Regions from separate parts of the Homo sapiens genome. Here all the other regions are linked to region 1. The links are contacts of gene promoters, found by promoter capture Hi-C in blood cells and fetal thymus (Javierre and others, 2016). All regions are on one chromosome and are shown on one strand. Each heading gives the region's core, a stretch centred on a gene start or on the middle of the fragment in contact. The rest is flanking DNA. Distances are from core to core; before and after follow the strand shown.

Region 1 (2,700 bases), core at 174-2,673:
CTCCGGGCGCGCAGGAATTTCTTCACAGCAGAGGCTGGTCACCTGCCGTCCGTCCCTCCCCGCCTGGCCCGGTGACCGTCGCCAGAGCCTGGCGCAGGCAAATAAACGCCAAGCTGGGGCACCCCCAAGGAGGAGCTGCGATCCGAAGGCAATGCCAAGCGAGAGCGGTGGCGCGTCTGTTCTTCCGGAGTCTGTAGTCTACAAATAACTCCGGCCAGCAAGGAGGTGACAGCCCCAATATACCTCCCACTCCCCTGCTATGGCCTTGCTCCGCAAGCTGTGGAGGGGCCAGCGGAGCCAGCCAGGCAGCGAGAGAGAACGAAAGACGCCCAGCTCGTTGCAGCCGCCAACCCGCCTCAGCCGCCAGTCCCTAGTCCTCAGGAGCTAGTGAGGCGCTGCAAGGCGAGGCTGGGGCCTCTAGAACACAGTTTAAGGGGTGCGCGCGGAAGTGGGAACCAGCCGGTGGCCGCTGCCCGGCGCCAGAACGTCTACCATTCAGCCCGGGCGTGCGCGGGGCGGGGAAGAGGCTGGAGTAGAGAAGCGAGCGCCCGCGAGTGCGTGGCCGGTCCGCGAGCGCGTGTGGTGTCTGCCTTGTGAGCACTGCGGGTTCGCTGGACCCCGCGGCCAGGGCCGCGCCCCGCACCGCAGCTGTCGGATTACCCACCGTTCGGTTTTCCGCTGTGGCTGAACACAGCGGCTCTGCCCTTGCCAGTCTCCATCTCACCTCGGGGATCGGCAAATGCACACATCATGGATTCTCCGGATGCTCCAACCCGCGGACTCCAATGGGCGCCCCAAGACGCCCCCAGACCCAGCGCGGCGCCCCAAGCACATGGGACCCTCTCAAGGCAACTCGCCGCGCAGTCAGCGGCCGACTAGCAGGTCCGGATGCTCCTGCGCTCTGGCGGCCTGGACTTCGCGCCCTCGCTAAGCGGGCGCGTCTGCCAGGCGCTGCTGCCACCAGCACCAGGAGCGTGTTCGGGGGCCTCCGGGAGGTGGAAACGGGATGTGGGGGTCATCCTGCCCGCTCCTGACAACTTTTTTTCCTACGTTTCCCTGCAGACCCAGAGCAGCGAGGTCACGGTGTCCGCGGCCTCAGCAGGAAGGACCCCGCGATGGTTCTTCACAATTCACCCCCGCGAACAACGCACCCGAGCCTGCGCGCACGGAGGGCTGCCGCGCGTGGAACTGAGCGGGTCCTGGGTTGGTTTGCGGCCCTCTTCCCTCCGCCCACTCACATCCCTGCCGGGTGCGTCCGCGCTCACCTGTCAGTGCGGCGGGTCCTCGGGGCCTGCGCTTTCGACGCGTGGCGCTGAGTGCGGCCGCGGCCAGAGCCGCCGGGGCTCGGCGCGGGGTCAGCGGGACCGAGAGTGACGCGGCGGCCGTGCACTGGGTCGCCCGGTCCGCGGAAGGCGCACCGAGTGCCAGGCATCGCGCCGTCTCCCGTTTAAATGCCGGCGGCAGAGCGCGGCGCCCGGGGCCGCGCCTCTCCATTGGCCAGGCGCCGCCGCCGCCGCCAGACCCGCTATCCGCCCCCTTTCCCGGTACTGCCCCCGCCCCCCGCACCCCTCCTGCTTCCCCGCGGGGTCCCCTCTCCGCCCGCCTCGCCTCTTTGTCTGCTCCCCCCGCCCGGGCCGGCTGGGAGAGGTCACCCCAGGGAACCGCGCCTGGAATGCACAGCAAATCACATTTTCCGCTCCCGTTGGAGAGGGAAGAGCGGGAGGAAATCCCCCCGGCTGGCGGCCCCTCATTCCTTCTCTGCCCCAGGTCTGGGCTTTCCCTGTCGGCCGCCCGGCATCGCCTGCGTTGGTCCCGCGCTCAGTAGCGGAGACTGCGCTGGGAAGAGCGAGATCTCCGTGGGATCGTGCCAGATTCGGCCATTCTTCCCCTCTGGAGGGAACGGGACTGCGGGATGCTCTGGTCGAGCGGCCGTCGTGGCTCCCCGGCGGCCCCGCCCGAGGCCCCCAACTTCGAGGGCGCTGACCCCGGCGCCCCCGTTAACCTGGCGGGCTCGCTGGCCGCCAGCAGGAGCCTGTCGCCAACATGACACCCTGCTCTCCTCGCCCGCCAAGGGTTCTTTCAGCCCAGATGCCGGCGGCCTCCCCTGTGAGTGTACAGAGGGGAGTCACGGGAGGAGAATAAAACTAAATGACCGTCAAAAGTCAAGGCTTCTGTTCCTAAATTATCTTAAGAGACAGAGAGAAAACAGCCACTGGGCGAGAGGGGTTTTCTGTAGCATATCAAAGACGAATAAGTCAGGAAAATAAAACGTTAGATGAGGAAGTAACTTCCCAGAAATTTAGGACAAAAACCTACCGACGTGTAAAACCAATGTCACATTCCGGATACCAAGTACATAAATAGTTTTCGAAAGATGAGCGAACACTTTCATTTGTTCTCTTAGCCTGAAAAATTGGTTCCTCAAAGAGGCCGTAAGTTTTGTGTGTTGAAGCTAAAGTCCGTGCAAAAATTAACACGTCTGCAAGATCTGCAGACCAGCTCCATCAGCCACGTCAAATGAAGACTTTGAAAAAGATTTGCTACAGAAGGAAATATGAAGGTGTCTGTATTGTCTAACGCGAAATAAACAAAACAATGAAATCCATCAAAAGATACTTACGAAACACCCGTAATTTAAGTACTTGACTAGGAAAACAAAACCAGACCAGAAAACAGCCTATTTTTTTTTTCTCTTTAGTC
Region 2 (2,700 bases), core at 72-2,571, 220 kb before region 1:
TACCTTTATCTATTTGGAAGCCCATGACTTAGAAGTGGGATGACTGTTACTAAGACAAGCTGACTTGTCATCAGTAGCATATCTACTTTTTACCAACCAGCCTCTTAATGTCCATAGTTTGGCCAGGTGGTGGAATTCAGCGAGTATTGATGTGAAGCATAAGCAAGAGATAACACTAGTTTGATGGCACAAAAATAGAAGTTGTATTTTTTAGAATTGTACTTGGGAGAATCAGATTGTCTAATTTATGTGAATTCTCCACGCTGTTGTTCAATCTTACCAAGAAAGGCCAGATCATTTACACACTTGTTCTATATAGCTGACCGTGTACCCTATGTGGATATTTGGTATACAGGTCGAGTATCCCTTATCTGAAATGGTTGAGACCAGAAACGTTTCAGATTTCAAATTTTCCAGTTGAGCATTCCAAATCTGAAAATCCAAGACCTGAAATACCCCACTGAGCATTTTCCTTGAGCACTGTACCAGCGCTGAAAAAGTTCTGGATTTTGAAATACTTCGTATTTTGGAGTTCTTGAGTTTTGAATTTGGGATGCTCGACCTGTATATCATTGTCATGAAAGTAAATGTCTACTCATATATATATGGTTTCTACATTTATTTGTTTGTTTTTGGTGGGGTGAAATAGTTGATTCAGACAGGAAAAGCAGCAACTTTCACATGCCCTTAGTTCCCTGAAGTGCCAGCAGCTATTCATTGGTGATAGCACATGTGGCTGTATTTGAAAAAACTCTCTGCTTATTTGCCAGGCTCTAGGATAAAACTGACTGTGCTGGAGATGGAAACCCTGTGACTGGAACTGAGTATGTTCAAATGTGAAACTTAAGCCAAAGAGCAAAATATGCACTCGATCTGGTATAGGTATGAATGTGTTTGGTGTCTAGCAAAGGTGTAGATGTAGAAATTAATCATCTTCCTTTCAGACAGGGAAGGCTCCATGGAAGAAGAGGGCTTCTGTGTTTCTCTTAATTTTGTAGCTATGCCAAACTCACTTGGCTGAGCAGACTTCCAGCACTTGTGGTCTATTCAGAACCATTTATTTTTATTTTTGGCCCTGTCTGCCAAGCTCAGGCAGAAAGCCGAAGATATACAGTGTACAGATTTTCTGTAGATGTAAAAATCCCACTGGACCTGACAAGAATTCTTTCTCAGCCTGTCTGGCAGAACTTTTCTAGCTGAGGTTGAAGGTATGATTTTCCCAGTGTAGCAAATCTGTCTTCCCATTTTTGTCTTAATTCTTATTCACAGAGGCAGGCTTTAAAAAAATTCACATATGTGAGGAATAATAATAATTTGTCTATACTGGCTTAATGTACAGGTTTAGACAGTGTGGGCCTGCCTTTCCCACTCTGGAAGGCATTGGGAGAGTCCCTTAGGCGATGTAATAGTACGCACGTGTGACATGCCCTAATCCTGGCATGTGGCAGGGGTCTGGAAAGGCTTTGCCTTAAACTAGGCATGTCTAATAGGGTTTAACGCAACCTGTGAATTTGCCCCTGCACAAGGTCAGCTTGTAGGTCAGTGGAATGCTGCACAAATTGCATTCTCCTCCAGACTGTAATTATACCTAGGAGAAAGCCATGTGCTGCCAAGTTCAGCTGACTCTAGATAGGGCGGAGATAAAGTGAGGGCTTGCTAACGTCCCTCAAAAACTGATTTTTAACAATCTGATATAAAACATCTCTTGTTTAAAAAAAAATGGTGATCTTGAGGTTTCTGAAGGAGCTTAGTGTAGGGGATGGTGACCAGCTGTTTCCTACCTTCCCTGAGAGCAGAAAAAGATGGTTCAAAATGGGAGCATGAGGAATTTGAGCCAAACATCAGGTAAAATAGTTCACTGCCAAAAGTCTCTTAATACTAGAAAATGACTTGGAGGATTATTACACATCAGGTAATATGCATATGAGGACAAAGAAGAATGAAAAGTGAGTATGATAAGGGATCATAGACTAGGAGTGGAATGAACAGTTTAATTTGTATTTACAATTAGCTGAAGTAGTGCTCTGTTGTATTGTTTGAGAGAAAATGGCTATAAATGTGTGCATTATCTAAATGTAACCTTTATAATGAAGTGTGCACATTCTTGTAAAGTAAGGTCTATACTTACATACGTGGACTTCTGGGCCAACCCAAAGGCAGAGGGATAAATTAGATGAAATTTGTAGGTTTCTTCAGTGCTAAGTGTTAAATGACTCCAAAATCCAATTCAACCAGAGTAACATTGGATAAGCAAAATCTTACAAATACTTACACTCTCCAGTAAATGTTTTCTGAACTATCTTTCCTGAACAGCCTGTAGTAGCCACTTTTCCCCCCAAGAACCTACATGGAATAAAATCAAGTTGGGAGCTTAAAGCATAAATTCTATCTACTGGCTTCACGTAAACATGGAAAATAATTATTTTGACATTCATATTATTGGTTCCTGCAGCTTGATTTTTTTCGCAGGCTGCTTTTTATGTTACGTGGGGATAAGGCACTAACCTGTGGGCCGGGGCTTTTGGGGAACCTTTCCTTTGTTATTTACCTAAGGCAAGCTAACTAACTCCTTTTAATATGATGAAGCTGGATGCTAATACAGTCAGGAATCCCACTAACGTCTAACAATCAAATGTGATAAACTGACCTCATGGTTTTGTGAAAGCCTCTGCTGCTATTGGGTCTTAATGCCCGGAAGAA
Region 3 (2,700 bases), core at 21-2,520, 240 kb before region 1:
TTTCAGCTTTCTACATATGGCTAGCCAGTTTTCGACTTTCCAATTTTGTTCTTATGCCTAGTGGCTGCTGTATTGGATAGCATAGATGTAAAACATTTCCATTGTATAAAAAGCTCTGTTGGACAGCACTGTCTTAAGCATTGGTATGTGTTGAGGGCAAAAAATAAAAGTAAAATAATAATAATAATAATAATAATAAATCCTTGCCCTGTGGAGCTTATATTAACAAACACTAAACATAAACCCTGTCAATCACATAGTAGTGCAGGGGAAGGAGGGTCGACTTTAGTAGGGTGGGGGTGAGGTCTGCAATTTTAAATGGGGTGTTCAGGGTAGACCTCATTATGACGGTGGCTTCTGAGTAGTGACTCAAGGACTCAAAAACTTGAGAGGCACCAGCTTTCTGTAAGAGAATGAGTTTAGGACTGTCAGGCAGTCAGAGACAACCATGAGGACGAATCACACCTCTGCCACACATTGACTGTGAGATCTGAGGCAACGGTACTAGGTCCTTTCACTCTCTGTGTCTGGGTCCCTGCACCATAGCCTGAGATGATATCTGCTCATAATGTTCTCTAAGTAATTATTCAATGGGGTAATCCATGTATCAGGCTCAGCATAGTGCCTGGCTCACTGTCAGTGCTCAACATATGACAGCTGCTCTTGTTTTTGCTACTGTTACTACTACGGCTACCATTTCCCTGTTTTAGTGGGTTTTTGTTTGGTTGGTTAGTTTTTCTTATTTTTAATAGTAGCAGAAATGGTGTTGAGGAAAAAGTATAGTACTCTGTGTTGCTATTGACTTGCTATGTGAGCTTGGGCTGGTTGTCTTCCTTGTCGTATTTTCCCTTCTCTATAAAAAAGGATTACAGGCCGGGTACGGTGGCTCATGCCTATAATCCTAGCACTTTGGGAGGCTGAGGTGGGTGAATCAGCTGAGGTCAGGAGTTCGACACCAGCCTGGCCAATTTCGGGAAACCCCGTCTCTACTAAAAACACAAATATTAGCCAGGTGTGGTGGCGGGCGCCTGTAATCTCAGCTACTCGGGAGGCTGAGGCAGGAGAATCGCTTTAACCCAGGAGGCAGAGGTTGCAGTGAGCTGAGATTGCCGCATTGCACCCCAGCCTGGGCAACAAGAGCAAAACTCCGTCTAAAAAAAAAAAAAAAGATGAACAATATCTGAATCTACCTGACCCACCAGTATGTTGTGAAATTCACATCTAAGCAGGTTTGAGGCAGTGTTTTGAAAAGTATGTAATATTGAATGATACCATCAACCCTGCCTTTTTTTTTTTTTTTTTTTTTTTTGAGACGGAGTCTCACTCTTGTCATCTAGGTGGGAGTGCAATGGTGTGATCTCGGCTCACTGCAACCTCTGCCTCTGGGGTTCAAGCAATTCTCCTGCTTCAGCCTCCCGAGTAGCTAGGATTACAGGCATGCACCACCATGCCCGGCTAATTTTGTATTTTTAGTAGAGACAGGTTTTCACCAAGTTGGCCAGGTTGGTCTCGAACTTCTGACCTCAGGTGATCTGCCCACCTCACCCTCCCAAAATGCTGGGATTACAGGCGTGAGCCACCGTGCCAGGCTACGTTTCCTTGTTAAATTACATCATGGGGTTCATCATCAGTTCATTTCTCAAGTAATGTAATGATTATGAAATTAGCTGCAAATTACAGGGGAAAAAAGGAAAATGTCTGAATTCAGTTTTCTGTTAATCAAATCAGATTTTCCCACTGACTTCAATTACGGATAAAAATCATGATCAAAATGTTTCTCAAGGTCACTGTAATTGTGTTGTCTTGAGAAAAATATCCAAAGAAGTATTAAAGGAAAATTTTAAAAGGCTATATTGCATGGAACAATTTGAATTTTTCTAATAAATTGGCTCTGTGACCCCACCCAAATATCATGTCAAATTGTACCCACGTGTCTAGGAGGGACCTGGTGGGAGGCGATTAAATCATGGGGGTGGATTTCCCTTTCTGTTCTCCTGATAGTGAGTGAGTTCTCACGAGATTTGGTTGTTCCATAAGTTTCTGGTGCCGCTCTCACCCCACCCTCTCTCTCCTGCTGCCATGTTGGTAGTATCTTTATAGCAGTGCGAAAATGGATTAATACAAATAGTAAGTTCCAGACAAATCCGGGCAAAAAAAGGTCAGCTGATTTACATAGAATGTATTCCCATGCAATTAGATTCATATGAGATGGAGGTAAGCCTGCTTTGTAGCCAGGCTGGCTTTTTAAATGCCATCTATAGAAGCAGAAGACTTGTTTCTACCTGAATGGCAAAAGGAAAATCTGTATATTCCAAAGCCAACTTCAGTTTGCCTCTTTCAGGAAGGCTTGCCTGAACTCACCAGAATCTCCTCTGAATGCTTTCTTATGCAGGATCGTATTAAATTTACTTTTGTTCTTTATTGCTTCTTAGATTGCTATTACTCTTTTTGTTTCTCTCCAGATGCTTGAAAACATGTTGTTTACTCATAGAACTATTCACTTCTGTTTTGGTGAATGAATATTTGTTTTTAAACATCAAAGCATTTGGTCATTTATTATTTCTTTTCTTATAATAGTTTGCCTGTTCAACAAAGGAGTTTAAGGCAGTTAGTACTTGATAACATTTATTTTGTTTCTCTGTCTGAGGGGGAAAATAACACTTCATTTAAACTCTTTAAGTTTTCTGAACAGGGTGGTTG

Evidence for each region. The method cuts DNA at HindIII sites, captures the fragments that hold promoters and counts their contacts. A CHiCAGO score of 5 or more calls a contact.
Region 2: a fragment that was not itself captured here is called in contact with the fragment with the promoter of GREM1 in region 1 in 6 of 17 cell types (M2 macrophages, M1 macrophages, M0 macrophages and 3 more); the score reaches 11.1 in M2 macrophages.
Region 3: a contact is called between a fragment that was not itself captured here and the fragment with the promoter of GREM1 in region 1, in 4 of 17 cell types (M0 macrophages, M2 macrophages, M1 macrophages and 1 more). The highest score is 12.1, in M0 macrophages.

Annotation. Positions count from the first base shown.
Region 1 is chr15:32,716,727-32,719,426 of GRCh38, reverse strand. GREM1 (gremlin 1, DAN family BMP antagonist) reads right to left here and starts at 1,423. Exons shown (of 2, transcript NM_013372.7): 1 at 1,266-1,423. GREM1-AS1 (GREM1 antisense RNA 1) reads left to right here and starts at 562. Exons shown (of 2, transcript NR_109767.1): 1 at 562-882; 2 at 1,063-1,326. RefSeq lists enhancers at 123-700, 701-1,279, 1,417-1,917. The HindIII fragment of the contact is 6,086 bases long and covers 1-2,700 here.
Region 2 is chr15:32,940,841-32,943,540 of GRCh38, reverse strand. All of the region lies in intron 9 of FMN1 (formin 1), which reads left to right. Among named protein-coding and RNA genes, the nearest start is that of GREM1-AS1, 220 kb to the right of the region's middle. The HindIII fragment of the contact is 4,431 bases long and covers 1-2,700 here.
Region 3 is chr15:32,959,605-32,962,304 of GRCh38, reverse strand. All of the region lies in intron 9 of FMN1 (formin 1), which reads left to right. Among named protein-coding and RNA genes, the nearest start is that of FMN1, 230 kb to the left of the region's middle. The HindIII fragment of the contact is 6,719 bases long and covers 1-2,700 here.